Regions from separate parts of the Homo sapiens genome. Here all the other regions are linked to region 1. The links are contacts of gene promoters, found by promoter capture Hi-C in blood cells and fetal thymus (Javierre and others, 2016). All regions are on one chromosome and are shown on one strand. The core of a region is centred on a gene start or on the middle of the fragment in contact, and the rest is flanking DNA. Distances in the headings are between cores, read along the strand shown.

Evidence for each region. The method cuts DNA at HindIII sites, captures the fragments that hold promoters and counts their contacts. A CHiCAGO score of 5 or more calls a contact.
Region 2: a contact is called between a fragment that was not itself captured here and the fragment with the promoter of NF2 in region 1, in 1 of 17 cell types (naive CD4 T cells). The highest score is 7.4, in naive CD4 T cells.
Region 3: a contact is called between a fragment that was not itself captured here and the fragment with the promoter of NF2 in region 1, in 1 of 17 cell types (total CD8 T cells). The highest score is 5.4, in total CD8 T cells.
Region 4: a fragment that was not itself captured here is called in contact with the fragment with the promoter of NF2 in region 1 in 1 of 17 cell types (M0 macrophages); the score reaches 5.1 in M0 macrophages.
Region 5: a contact is called between a fragment that was not itself captured here and the fragment with the promoter of NF2 in region 1, in 4 of 17 cell types (M1 macrophages, total CD4 T cells, neutrophils and 1 more). The highest score is 6.2, in M1 macrophages.

Annotation. Positions count from the first base shown.
Region 1 is chr22:29,602,336-29,605,035 of GRCh38, forward strand. It overlaps NF2 (NF2, moesin-ezrin-radixin like (MERLIN) tumor suppressor), which reads left to right and starts at 1,298. Exons shown (of 16, transcript NM_000268.4): 1 at 1,298-1,777. The coding sequence starts at 1,664. RefSeq lists an enhancer at 684-813 and a silencer at 1,064-1,643. The HindIII fragment of the contact is 9,228 bases long and covers 1-2,063 here.
Region 2 is chr22:30,099,942-30,102,650 of GRCh38, forward strand. The region is part of intron 3 of HORMAD2 (HORMA domain containing 2); the gene reads left to right. Among named protein-coding and RNA genes, the nearest start is that of HORMAD2, 21 kb to the left of the region's middle. The HindIII fragment of the contact is 7,543 bases long and covers 1-2,709 here.
Region 3 is chr22:30,014,566-30,017,265 of GRCh38, forward strand. It overlaps MTMR3 (myotubularin related protein 3), which reads left to right. Exons shown (of 20, transcript NM_021090.4): 15 at 1,963-2,133. The region is part of intron 4 of HORMAD2-AS1 (HORMAD2 and MTMR3 antisense RNA 1); the gene reads right to left. Among named protein-coding and RNA genes, the nearest start is that of MIR6818, 8.9 kb to the left of the region's middle. The HindIII fragment of the contact is 2,319 bases long and covers 225-2,543 here.
Region 4 is chr22:30,042,534-30,045,233 of GRCh38, forward strand. All of the region lies in intron 2 of HORMAD2-AS1 (HORMAD2 and MTMR3 antisense RNA 1), which reads right to left. Among named protein-coding and RNA genes, the nearest start is that of HORMAD2-AS1, 36 kb to the right of the region's middle. The HindIII fragment of the contact is 4,004 bases long and covers 1-2,700 here.
Region 5 is chr22:29,994,898-29,997,597 of GRCh38, forward strand. The region is part of intron 7 of MTMR3 (myotubularin related protein 3); the gene reads left to right. Among named protein-coding and RNA genes, the nearest start is that of MIR6818, 11 kb to the right of the region's middle. The HindIII fragment of the contact is 2,391 bases long and covers 62-2,452 here.

The DNA.
Region 1 (2,700 bases), core at 48-2,547:
GCGAAACTCTGTCTCAAAACAAAAAACAAACGAAAAAACACAGTAAATTGTCCCTATTTGACTACTAAGAGCTATTTTAAAATAGAATTTATTATCTAAGTACAGAAAGGTGTAATTATCCCCCCTACACCCGTTAGAACCCTTGATGACACTAAATAAATAATACATGAATACGGTTCAAAAATGGGCATCATAGAGTATAAAATAAAGAATGCTTTCATTTTCAACCCAAATTCAGCAATTTCATAGGATGCCAGGCTCAGCTCTAAAGCCTTATATGTATTCAGTGCGCTGAAATTCAACAACCTCACGAGGTAGGTATAACCAATAATAATTCTAGGCGGGGCGTGGTGGCTCACGCCTGTAATCCTAGCACTTCGGGAGGCCGAGGCGGGCGGATCACCTGAGGTTCGAGACCAGCCTGACGAACATGGAGAAACCCCGTCTCTAATAAAAATACAAAATTAGCCGGGCGTGGTGACGCATACCTGTAATCCCAGCTACTCGGGAGGCTGACGCCGGAAAATCGCTTGAACCCGGGAGGCGGAGGTTGCAGTGAGCCGAGATCGCGCCACTGCACTCCAGCCTGGGCAACAAGAGCGAAACTCCGTCCCAATAATAATAATAATTAATAATAATAATAATAACAATAATAATAATAATTCTAAAGGGAAGCAGAGGGATCTGGCGGGAAAGTGCCAGCAAACCTAACAGGCCTCCACAAGTGTCTTTAAAGTTTCATAGGGGTCGGTATATGTGATTAACTGCCAAAGAAGAATATTCGCCGTGTGTCCGAAACGCAGTCCCCTGGGGCGCCACACTCGGAGCCTACTTGAACCGAAGAGTCCCTCCCTGGGCCAACGAAGGACCCAATTCCCCTCGCCCCGGATCCAGCCTCTAAGTGGTTTCCCGGGTAAGGTCAGCAGAGGTCCGCCGCCTCAACCAGTCTTGTTAGAGTAGGCACAAAAGCATTCAGAGTGACTGCCACTGTAGCCACTCAACGCCGAGCCTAGGCCTGCTTTTTTTGCAGTTAGAGTGAAACTTTCCATTGGTGGAGTCACCCCAAAGGAGGCGGGACGGAGCGGGAAAGTCCTGCCTACCTTGGCCTTCCCAGCCAATCGCAGCATCTATGCGTCAGCCTCCGGTTCGGTTGCGCTGCGCGTAGTGGTCTGGGCGACCTGAGGGCGGGGCCGGGAGCAGGCCCCGGGCTGTGGGGAGGGTGCGCTTCCCGCGGGCGCGCGGAGTGAGGACGGTGACAGCCACGCGCGCGCGTACGCGCCCGATGCAGCGCGGCCCCGTGACCCTAGTCGGCCGCTGAGAGGCGCGCGGAGTCTGGGCCGCTGCCGTCTAGGGGTCCCGTCCCGAGGCGTCCCCGGCATCTCCGGCCCGAATCCCGGAGTGCCGGGTCGCGCCTGCACCGAAGGTCCCGGCTCCTGTGCCCTCCCTGCAGCCGTCAGGGCCCGTCCCCCAACTCCCCTTTCCGCTCAGGCAGGGTCCTCGCGGCCCATGCTGGCCGCTGGGGACCCGCGCAGCCCAGACCGTTCCCGGGCCGGGCAGCCGGCCACCATGGTGGCCCTGAGGCCTGTGCAGCAACTCCAGGGGGGCTAAAGGGCTCAGAGTGCAGGCCGTGGGGCGCGAGGGTCCCGGGCCTGAGCCCCGCGCCATGGCCGGGGCCATCGCTTCCCGCATGAGCTTCAGCTCTCTCAAGAGGAAGCAACCCAAGACGTTCACCGTGAGGATCGTCACCATGGACGCCGAGATGGAGTTCAATTGCGAGGTAACCGGCCGGCAGCCCCGACTGCTGCGGTGACAGTCGAGGTGGAAGCTCGAGAGGTTCTCTTTATATCATCTTATGGGTGTAGCTAGAGACGGGCAGAACCGGAAGGGCCAACTAGGCCCAAAACCTCATGTTAAAGATGATTGCTGCTTTTTTTCATAGGACTTTTGGGTTTTGGCATTTCCTGAAGGTTATTTTCATTCATTGTTATTGGAAGAAGCTGGATGCTCCTGTGATAGAAAATTCAGGATTTCAGTGTCAGGCTTAAGTTAGGCTTACGCTTAAAAGCTTGAAAGTTTATTCTTTCATTAGGTAATATTGTTATGTACCCAGGTATTAGAAGTTGCGTCTTGTTTATTGGAAAGCCAATACTTGTTTCCCTTTTCTAAAGCTTGCATATTCTGGGAAAAAAAACCCTTTGAAGAACGATATAACATCTCATACTTACTTTCCACATAGTTTCCAACATGATGATAACAGCTATCAATTGTTCAGTATTTTCAAAGTGCTAGACATTTGCACATTTAATCCTCAGAACAAACCCATTTATCTAGTAAATGGCAAGGTGGGGTTTTGAACCAAGCTCACAGCCCGTACAGTACTGCTTCTCAAGTAATTTAAGTTCTTGCTGCTAAAAGTGTGGTTTGTGGACCAGCAGCATTGGCAGCAGTAAGCAAGGGTTGGCATGCTTTTTCTGTACAGGACCACATAGTAAATATTTTCAACTTTGTAGACTAGAGAATCTCTGTTGGAGTTATTCAACTCTTCAACTCTACCATTGTAACACAAAAGCAGCCTTAGATAAGATCAGCTTCCAGCATGACAGCTTAAGGAACCCATTCCTCTGTAAAACTGGTGAAAATTCTTTTTTGTTTTGTTTCGTTTTGAGACAGAATCTCACTCTGTCACCGAGGCTGGCATGC
Region 2 (2,709 bases), core at 91-2,590, 500 kb after region 1:
AACAAGTTTTCAAAAATCTTATTTGTTTAAAAAGCTGGATTGTGTATCATGAAAATGGCCATACTGCCCAAAGTAAATTATAGATTCAATGTTATTCCCATCAAGCTACCATTGACTTTCTTCACAGAATTAGAAGAAACTACTTTAAATTTCATATGGAACCAAAAAGGAGCCCATATAGCCAAGAAAATCCTAAGCAAAAAGAACAAAGCTGGAGGCATCATGCTACCTGACTTCAAATTATGCTACAAGGCTACAGTAACCAAAACAGCATGGTACTGCTACCAAAATAGATATATAGACCAATGGAACAGAACAGAGGCCTCAGAAATAACACCACACATCTACAACCATCTGATCTTTGACAAACCTGACAAAAACAAGCATTGAGTAAAGGATTCCCTATTTAATAAATGGTGCTGGGAAAACTGGCTAGCCATACGCAGAAAACCGAAACTGGACCCCTTCCTTACACCTTATACAAAAATTAATTCAAGATGGATTAAAGACTTAAATGTAATACCTAAAACCATAAAAACCCTAGAAGAAAACCTAGGCAGTACCATTCAGGCCATAGGCATGGGCAAAGACTTCATGACTAAAGCACCAAAAGCAATTGCAACAAAAGCCAAAATAGACAAATGGGAACTAATTAAACCAAAGAGCTTCTGCACAGCAAAAGAAATTGTCATCAGAGTGAACAGGAAACATACAGAATGGGAGAAAATGTTTCCAATCTATCCATCTGACAAAGGTTTAATATCCAGAATCTACAAGGAACTTAAAACAAATTTACAAGAATAAAACAACCCCATCAAAAAGTGGGCAAAGGATATGAACAGACACTTCTCAAAAGAAGACATTTATGCAGCCAACAAACATATGAAAAAAAGCTCATCATCACTGGTCGTTAGAGAGATGCAAATCAAAACCACAATGAGATACCATCTCATGCCAGTTAGAACGGAAATCACTAAAAAGTCAGGAAACAACAGATGCTGGAGAGAATGTAGAGAAATAGGAATGCTTTTACACTGTTGGTGGGAGTGTAAATTAGTTCAACCATTGTGGAAGACAGTGTGGCAATTCCTCAAGGATATAGAACCAGAAATACCATTTGACCAAGTAATCCCATTACTGGGTATATATCCAAAGTATTATAAATCATTCTATTATAAAGACACATGCACACATATGTTTATTGCAGCACTATTTACAATAGCAAAGACTTGGAACCAACCCAAATGCCCATCAATGATAGACTGGATAAAGAAAATGTGGCACATATACATCATAGAAAACTATGTACCCATGAAAAATAATTAGTTCATGTCCTTTGTAGGAACATGGATGATGCTGGAAACCATCATTCTCAGCAAACTAACACAGGAACAGAAAACCTGTGTTATGTATGTTCTCACTCATAAGTGGGAGTTGAACAATGAGAACACATGGAAACAGGAAGGGGAACATCACACACTGGAGCCTGTAGGGGGGTGGGGGGCAAGGGAAGGAATAGCATTAGGACAAATACCTAATGCATGTGGGGCTTAAAACCTAGATGATGGGTTGATGGTTGCAACAAACCACCATGGCACATGAACAAACCTGCACTTTCTGCACATGTATTCCAGAACTTAAAGTATTAAAAAAAAAAAAAGCTGGATTGTGAATCTTGTTGACTTGTCACTAAAATAGGAACTGTCATTTGGAAAATAAACATAGAGAGCTACAAGTTGCCTTGTAAGATGTTATTTTTCAAAATCTAATTTTAAATTTCTTACATCTGTATTTAATGATATACCTTGGCCTCATTTCAGTCTAATTCTCTTGGTTGGGCATGGTGGCTCAGGCTTGTAATCCAAAGTGTAACCATAACACTTTGAAAGGCAAGGTGGGCAGACTGCTTGAGCCTAGGAATCCAAGACCAGCCTGAACAACACGGTGAAACCCTGTCTCTATAAAAAATACAAAAAATTAGCTGGCCATGGTGGTGAGTGCCTGTAATTCCAGCTACTCTGGAGGCTGAGGTGGGAGGATCATCTGAGCCTGGGGGGTTAAGGCTACAGTGAGCTGTGATTGCACCACTGAATTCCAGCTTGAGTGATACAGTGAGACTCTGTCTCAAAAAAAAAAATTATCTTAAGTAATGTAAGAGCATCAATAAAATGCATGTGTGCTATAAGCACATAAACATGATATTTGCAATCATGACAACCTCATTTGTATTATGACATCTTTTGGTCTATGAGATACAAACTTGTAATAGTGAATGTGTTTATATCTAACATATATTTGTAATTTTCCCTCTTGTCTAGAACATAGAATTGAGAAAGACATATTTTTGATAATAAGCACATATTGTGTGCCAGTCACTACCCTAGGCAACGGCAATGATACCATTCCCTATAGCTTTATTTTTTGTGACAGTTATTGTGGAAGTTTTATGTCTCCCTTTCAATGTTTGTTCTTAAAGTAATATACATCATAAAAATGCTTAATACTCCTGTGTCACTCTCTTGTAATTTCTGAATGTTATATCAACATGGGATAATTTTCATATCCCTCAATAGAGATACAGGTAACATCAATTTTAGTATAGGAAAACAATACGAAAAGGTGAAGTTGCTTATGCAAAATCACACATAAATCAGTGATTGATCTTGGACTACTTTAAACCAAAACTCTATTTATTTATTTTGAGAGGGA
Region 3 (2,700 bases), core at 134-2,633, 410 kb after region 1:
CAGTGTGATCATAACTCACTGCATCCTCAAACTTCTGGGATCAAGAGATTCTCCCACCTCAGCCTCCCCAGTAGCTGGGACCACAGGCACATGCCAAGATGCCTGGCTAGTTTTTAAAAATTTTTTGTAAATAGACATGGAGTCTCGCTATGTTGCCCAGGCTGGTCTCAAACCTCCTGGCAAGTGATTCTCCCGCCTTGGTTGCCCAAAGAATTACAGGCGTAAGCTTCGACACCTAGCCTCCTCTCCCCAGTTCTAAATGTTGGAATGCCCCCTTGCTCAGCCTCCAGGCTGCTCCTCCATCCACACTTCCAAGTATTTCATCCATTCTAGTGGCTTTAATTGCCATCTGTATGCTGATGAGTCCCACATTTATACACCTTCAGCTTAGACCTCTCCACTTCAGACTCACGTATCTAAGTTACTACTAGGTATCTCCACTTGGCTGTCTTAATGTTGATTCAGACTTAATAAATTCAAAACTTGATGCTTCTTTTTGGAGACAGCATCTCACTCTGTCACCCAGGCTGGAGTACAGTGGCGCAAACACAGCCCACTGCAGCCTTGAACTCCCAGGGTCAAGTGATCTTCTCACCTTAGCCCCCTGAGTAGCTAGGACTGCAGGTGCGTACCACTGTGCCTGGCTGATGTTTTTAATTTTTTTTTTTTTTTTAAGAGATGGGGTCTTGCTTTGTTGCCCAGGCAGGTCTCAAACACCTGGGCTCAAACAATATCCTCCCACCCCGGCCTTCCAAAATGCTGGTATTAACAGGCATGAGTCACCATGCCTGTCCAAAACTTGATTCTTGATTCCTGTGTTTCCTCACTATAAAACTTGATCTTCCAGAAGTCTTCTCTCTCACCATATGGCATTTCCATCCCTCCTTTTGTTTGGGGCAAAATTCTTTGTCATCGTCAAGTCTCCTCCCTCCCTCCCTCCCTCCCTCCTTCCCTCCCTCCCTCTTCCACATTCAGTCAGATTCTGCAGCTCTGCTTTCGCAATCTATCTAAAACCTGGTTATTTATTGCCACCTTTACTGGTACCACACTGGTTCAAGCCACCATCATCTCCTGCCCCAATTGAGTTATCCCAGCATAGAGTCTCTTCTAAAACACAAGGCAGGCTGTGTCATTCCTTGGCTTAAAAACCTCTAGTTACATTTTACACAAAAGCCAAAGTTCTTAAAATGGTCTCCAGGGCCTTCCTAGAGGTTACCTCTCTAGGTTCATTTCCTACCATTCTCCCTCTTCTGCAATCTCCTTTAGTCACACTGGCCTCCTTGCTGTAGCTCAGAAATTGCAAGCATGTGCTTTACCTCAAAGCCATTGCACCTGTGGTTGCCTCTGCCTGGAGTGCTTCCCCTCAGATACCCACATGCCTGCTCTTTCAAGTCCACTGGGTCCCAGCCAGTGAGGCCATCCTGCACTGCCTCATATGTGTCCTGTCCATCTCAGTCTGCCTTGTTCTCCATAGCACTGGTCACTCTTCAGCTATGACTAGAGCAAGCTCCATCAGGGCAGAAGAATTTGCTGGTCATTGCTACATGCCCAGCACCTTAGTCATGTTTGGGCCATGTGAAATGCTCAATAATTTGTAGAATGAACAAGTAGTTTTACAAACATACTGTCAGCTCAGACTTGAGTTGTACACTGACGTGCTCCTGCACCCAGTTCATATGCTGTGGCGCTTGTGAGAGTGGCTGTTAATTCACAATCTCAGACTATTTATCACGGAAGCTAAGAGGAATAGGGGCACCAACAACCTGTCTGACTCAGGTTGTTGGGTCCTGGAATTGGTGGTGTGAGGAGGAGGAGGCTACTGCATGGCTTACTGGGTTCCCCGTCCTGACAGAGTAAATTGAAGTGTTCTCAGGGATGTTAGGATAAGGTGGCTCAGCTGAGCTGACTTATCAGAGTGTGCATGCCTGATTGCTTAATTTGTGCTTCATTGGACTTCCATAGGTGAAACTGGTGCAGCATACCTATTCCTGCCTGTTTGGAACATTCCTGTGCAACAACGCCAAGGAGAGAGGGGAAAAGCATACTCAGGAACGGACATGTTCCGTGTGGTCACTTCTTCGGGCAGGCAACAAGGCTTTCAAAAACCTACTGTATTCCTCTCAGTCAGAAGCCGTATGTATCCTTCAGCCTTTCCACTGTGGTCAGCAGAAGGAATTTGGGGTTGGTTACATATGAGAGCCTTTTTGAGTAGTGACTGTTTTTGTGAAGACATCTCTACTGTCTCTGGATGGACTGGTTCCATTTTTCCCCCATGATTCTGTCCTGAGGAAGGCCTGCTTCTGATGGTGCTCTGATCTGTTTCTGATGACTACTTGCTGAGGGTGGTTTGGTTTAACACAGATCTCTACTTTGCCACCCTAGACATGAATCTTTTTTGGCACTGCCTCCAGAGCTTATTTCTAGCATATTCTGTCTTACGGGAGAGGCACTTAAGTTGCTTCCTGATGCACTGATAGCTCAGAATGAGCTGCCACCAGGCCCCCAGCACCCTCCCAGTGTCAATAAGCAATGATACCCACCAAAGCTTCTGTCTCAGAACAGTAAACTGTGTTTGACATTGGTATGTGTGTCTGTCTGATTCTCTGCTCACATGAAGAGCTGGCAGGCCCTTTAAGACTTTGTTCCCCGAAGGAATGAATACCTTCTGTTAAGCAGAGAAAAGGAGGCACATAGACCTAT
Region 4 (2,700 bases), core at 94-2,593, 440 kb after region 1:
AAACGGGAAGAGCAGATTTGGAGGGAAAAAGGTCATTCATCTAAATTTGATACATTCTACTTCAGTTAAAAAAAAAAAAAAGAAAGAAATGGGTTGATTGAAAACAAAACAAGATGATTCCATGCCTAGAACTCCCGCTCTGTGCCACCCCTCCTTCAATCTCAGCATTCTCACACCCTTCGCCCTGCTTCCTTCCAGCGTCCTCATGTATACGTGTACCTCTGATCCTTGGGCCCTCCAATATCCAGTGCCAAGCAGATTGCATTTCAGAGAACCACCTAGACGACACTGTCCTTGGCCACACCATTCACCACCTCACCCGTGCTTTCTCCTGACCTTCTCAGGGTGGAGTTCCCTTGGTCTTTCTAGTCCTGAGACCATTCTCTGTGTGCAGAGCTGGCTTCATAGGTGTGCAGCCTCTGCAGTTACACACGACCCCACACTCAGAAGGGCCCACCTTCCGTTTAATGCTCCTCTGTTGCAGTCTTGAAATTACTAACATTAAACAAAGGACCCCACACTTTCATTTTTCACTAGGTCCCTCCCACAAATTATATAGTCGGTCCTGTATGTATGTCTGCAACATAATGAGGCAAACCAACGTGCGGCAGCCTTTCCCATCCGTGGCAGTGAACCTCATTTCCATCTAGGAAGTCCAACTTCTTCAAATCACAGGGAGACAAAGCAAAAAAAGGAGCTCAATTTTTTTTGTTTCTATGAAATACAGTTTTATGTGTAGTTTTATGTTTCTTCCTGATAATAATTTAGGAGGGAACCCTGAGGAACAGGATACAGAAATAACAAATTATGGGCCATTAACTGTGGCTAATTATTTCTTTATAGCTTAGAGTGGAGGCACATCTGAGTTGCTTTGGCACTCACAGTTACAGGAAGGGAGGGAGGGCAGCTTAAATACAATATAGAACCCGTGGGGAGACGAAGGGAGGAGCAATTTATTGCAGGTTCGGCATCCCCAATCCAGAATCTGAAACGTTTTGAGAACTGACATGCTCAAAGGAAATGTTCACTGGAGCATTTTGGATTTCAGATTTTCAGATTAGGGATGCTGAACTATTAAGGATAATGCAAATATTCCAAAATCCGAAAAAATAAAAAATCCAAAACACTTCTGGTCCCAGCATTTTGGATAAGGGACATTCAACCTGTAATCTCAGCCTAGCTTCTGAAGCATAAAAGCATAGCAGCAGACAAACATGCAAATAAACTTATGTCCAACCCAAAAGTCTAATATCTGGTTTGACTTTGTGGAAGAAAAGGATTTCCTGTTTCACAGAATCCTTTTGTTCCTTGCCCTTTTTACCCAGAGAGAGAGAGAGCTGCTTAGCATAAGTCATGGAAGGATGGCTGGGGACTATCAGAACCCTCAAGAGAAAGGTTTGTTGGTCTGGTTTATGCTGTATTTAGGAGAAGGCCCAGGACTGTTACTACAGTCAAGACTGGAACGAGGACTCAGGGCAGGGGTGGGGTGGGTAGTGGATGGAGAAAGAGGAGAGTAACCAGGAAGAGAAATGGGTACCCAGGTATCCTCTGAGGGTGACTCGAAAGAGAGATCAAAAAGCAACTGACTGTGAAAGTCAGGAATCACTTTTGCCATCACCGGAATCCATGAATGTTGAAGATCGACTGAGCAGGCTGTTTTCTTTCTGGTGATGGACAGTTCCTTCTAGATGCAGCAGAGGTACAATTCCATACTGTAATATGTTGGATAATGAGCCTTCAACTGGGTCTAAAATTAGGACTTTGACACACAAGAAAAATGTCTTCAGGCTTCAGGTTTTTGTTATCTGGTTTCTTTTGGATACTTTTAGCTCTTCGTCTATCCTCCAGAAAAGACCAAGCTGACCCACTCATTGTCAGCACAAAGAATGCTGTAAGGGTCACTGAAGACAAATCGTGCTGGTTTGGGAATAAGAAAAAAGAAGACAAACTCCTCTTGCCACAACTATGTGCTAGCCTAGAAGTGCACTTTAGTCATTTATTACCTCATTTGAATTGATCTATCATATGATCAACATGACTCACCGGTGCCTAGAGACTCTCTAACTTGTTTTTCCTGGCCCTGTGCCCTACTCAATACCCCACACCCCAGATTTACTCCTTATTACAGCTGGCTTGTGGGAAATGGGACTGGCCTGGGGTTCTCAAGAGTGGGCTGAGCTACCTCTCCAGTAGTGCTCTCGAAAGTGGCTATTGTTTCTGAACTGAGAGCTCTGCAATGAGCAGACACTGCATGGACTGTTCTTCTGAAGATTTAATTCCACATATATAGACATTGCCCAAGAAGGCTCTTCCTTTAGCATGGTTTGTATGCTCATGTTCCAGTCTTCTTATTTCCTACCTGGAGAACTCTTGCTCTTCATTGATCCATTAATTCTTGGTGTGCCAATTTGTGTTTCAGCTGTGCCAAAATGAAGGATCGGGATTATCTTCTAAACAAAAAGAATGACCTCCTTCTCCTGCGTCTAGGCCCTAAGGCATTTCCCTGCTCACTAATGGGATTAAGAATATTTTCATATGTTTATTGGCCATTGTGAATTTTTCTTTTTTCTTTTTTTTCTCTTCTTACAAACAGATGTTTTATTGCATTTGGTCCACAGTCGTATTTCACATTATCTCATGGAGCAGGGCCCCTGGGTGTGGGTCCCTGTGCAGTACTTGGTGGGGCATGTGGCCAGGGGA
Region 5 (2,700 bases), core at 7-2,506, 390 kb after region 1:
GCCAAATTCTTGACCCTTCTCTTAGCCCCTCAAACTCTAAAAAAGTGGACTGAAAGCTAAAAGCTTCTCTCCCATGTCCTTAACTTCCTGCTCCTCATTGCAATTGACTTGTTGGTGATGGCTCTGTACTAGAGTGTTAATCTGGAGGCCTGACAGATGACTGGGCAGCTTAGCTGCCAGTTTAGTAGCATCAGGCCTACCTCTCTAACCTCTCTCATGTGAAATGTCCCTTAAGCCCATCTTGTTTATCCACGACTAGCATATGACTCTGGGTCTTAACACTGCTGTGAAGCTGCCTATTTATCTGTCTTCCGGGTTTGAATGCAGTCCAGGAAGTTGCATCTAGAGGATTTACTGTGACCTTTGTACATAGAAAAGCATAATTCCTTTCTCCGTATTTGAAAATCTGCTAAGAGGTAGTTCTTACCTTCTCTGACTCTGGTATTGGTCTGCTTCCTCACCTGCCAGGTAAAGGCCTGTCCCTTCTGTCCCAGGCCTTTTAAGCTGTGTGTAATTGTGGGCTTGACTACTCAGGATCAGCCAGGGAGCTAGACTTTTGGGGGAAAATTTTTTAGATTGCTGATTGACACTGTGTTTGTGATAGAGGGAGTTAGGGAACTTCATTGCTTTTAAAAAGAAAGTTTTCATTTCCACTAAAGTGAAAATTGCTGGACTGTATTATTTTTATTATAAGAAACACTAAATGCTGAAAAGGGACAAAGGCAGATAGGAAGGGTTGAAATGGAAATATAAAGCCAAACAAAAACCTTATAGCCCCAGTATTTAAAGAAAGTTGGGATATCACAATGTATTTAATGTTGAATTGATTGAGACCTGAGAATTCTGAGATGGAGATTTTTAAGGGGAATCCAGCAATAGATCTGTTTGTGTTTATTTTTCTGGCTAAGTAAACGTGAGTGAACATCTCACACAATTTGCAAAAGCTGGTTGAATTCCTGATGTATGTAATGATGTGGTTTTCAAATAGGTTATGATCCAGTAGTGGGTCATGAAATCTAATTTTAAAGAAATGGAATAGAAAATATCAAATTGTGTCACACACATATTAAGAGTGGGTATTGTTTTGTGAAATGCTTTCAAAAAAATAATGTATGTTGTATTAGCTGGGCACAGTGTCTACCTATAGTCCTAGCTATTCAAGAGGCTGAGGTGGGAAGATTGTTTGAGTTTAGGAGTTCAAATCCAGCTTAGGCAACAGAGGGAAAACCCGGTCTCTCAAAAACTGAATAAATTAAAACATGTTTGTTGTATTGTGTTGTAAAACATAATTCTTATTGTGGGTTGTGATGGTCAGTTTCAGAGTTTATGAAGTCACTGCCTTAGAGGATATAAAAATAATTAAAACTCATTCCCATTCCCAAAGAACTCGAAATAACAGATTTTCTATACCTGCTAGTCAGTATATATTTCTGCGTATAGCTCAGAATGTTGTGCTCTGGATGGTGGTTCTAAGTCCTTCTTTGGGGAAATGGTTCTATGAAGTAAATTGCTAGTGATAGTGATTGTTACTGTTATTATTTTGCCAGTGGTTATTTTTAAATCACAAGATCCTTTAAGGGTATCTATGTGTTTTATCCTGAGATAGAGGTGTTAATGTAAAAGATCATTAATGTACAGTTCAAGAAAAGCACAAAAAAAATAAATCATTAATGAAATACTTACAGCTTTTGCAAAGACTTGGAGCTATATCCCAGAGTCGGGGGAAAAAATCTCTTAATGAACTTGGAATTTGCCACAGTTTTGCAGCTTTTAGATTGGGATTATGAATTAAAGACTCCTTGTCTGTTTTTTTTGTTCGTTTTGTTTTGTTTTTTTCCCCTTTTTTTGAGACAGGGTCTCACTCTGTTGCCCAGGCTGGAGTGCAATGGTGTGATGATGGCTCACTGCAGCCTCAACTTCCCTAGGTTCAGGTGATCCTCCCACCTCAGCCTCTCAAGTAGCTGGGACTATAGGCATGGACCACCACAACTTAATTTTTGCATTTTTGTGGAGATGGGGTTGCCCATGGGGTTGACCAGATGTTGCCCAGGCTGGTCTTGAACTCCTGGGCTCAAGCAATCTGCCTGCATCAGCCTCCCAAAGTGCTGGGATTACAGGTGTGAGGCACCGCGTCTGGCCTAGTATTCTTGATGGTCAATATTCCTTGCAATTTGTAGACAGATGGCACCCCAATTCAGATAGTTTTTTCCTGTTTGGAAGCCTGCTACATTGCTTCTAAAACTTTTCCAAAATGGGATGGATTTAGTTTTTATTTCTTCTTGCACCTCATATTCTCTCAACCTCATCTTTTTATAGCTCTCCTTCAGGAAATGTATAATACCTAGCTTGAGCTCAAGAAAAGCAGTTTAAATGGGAAGTAGTTTAACAGAATTGTCTTCCATCCAAGTAATTGCTGTTTCCTATTCTGTAGCTCCTCTCCCAGGGAGAACAAAGCTTTATACTCTGAACACTAAAGTGAAATCTGTTTTGTGCTTTTGTTGTTGTGGTTTCTTCCAGCCCTGCTAGCACTTATTTTACAACCTGTACCACTATATATTAGAGGTTCTGCTTAATATTTTTTAAAATAACATGCTGCCCTAGGACTGTGTATGTTTTCAAGGAAGAAAGTTATTTTAGATTTACTGAATTTATGTTAGCTTCGTTTCTACCTCTGTTTTGCTTTTTTAAGGAAGATAAAGC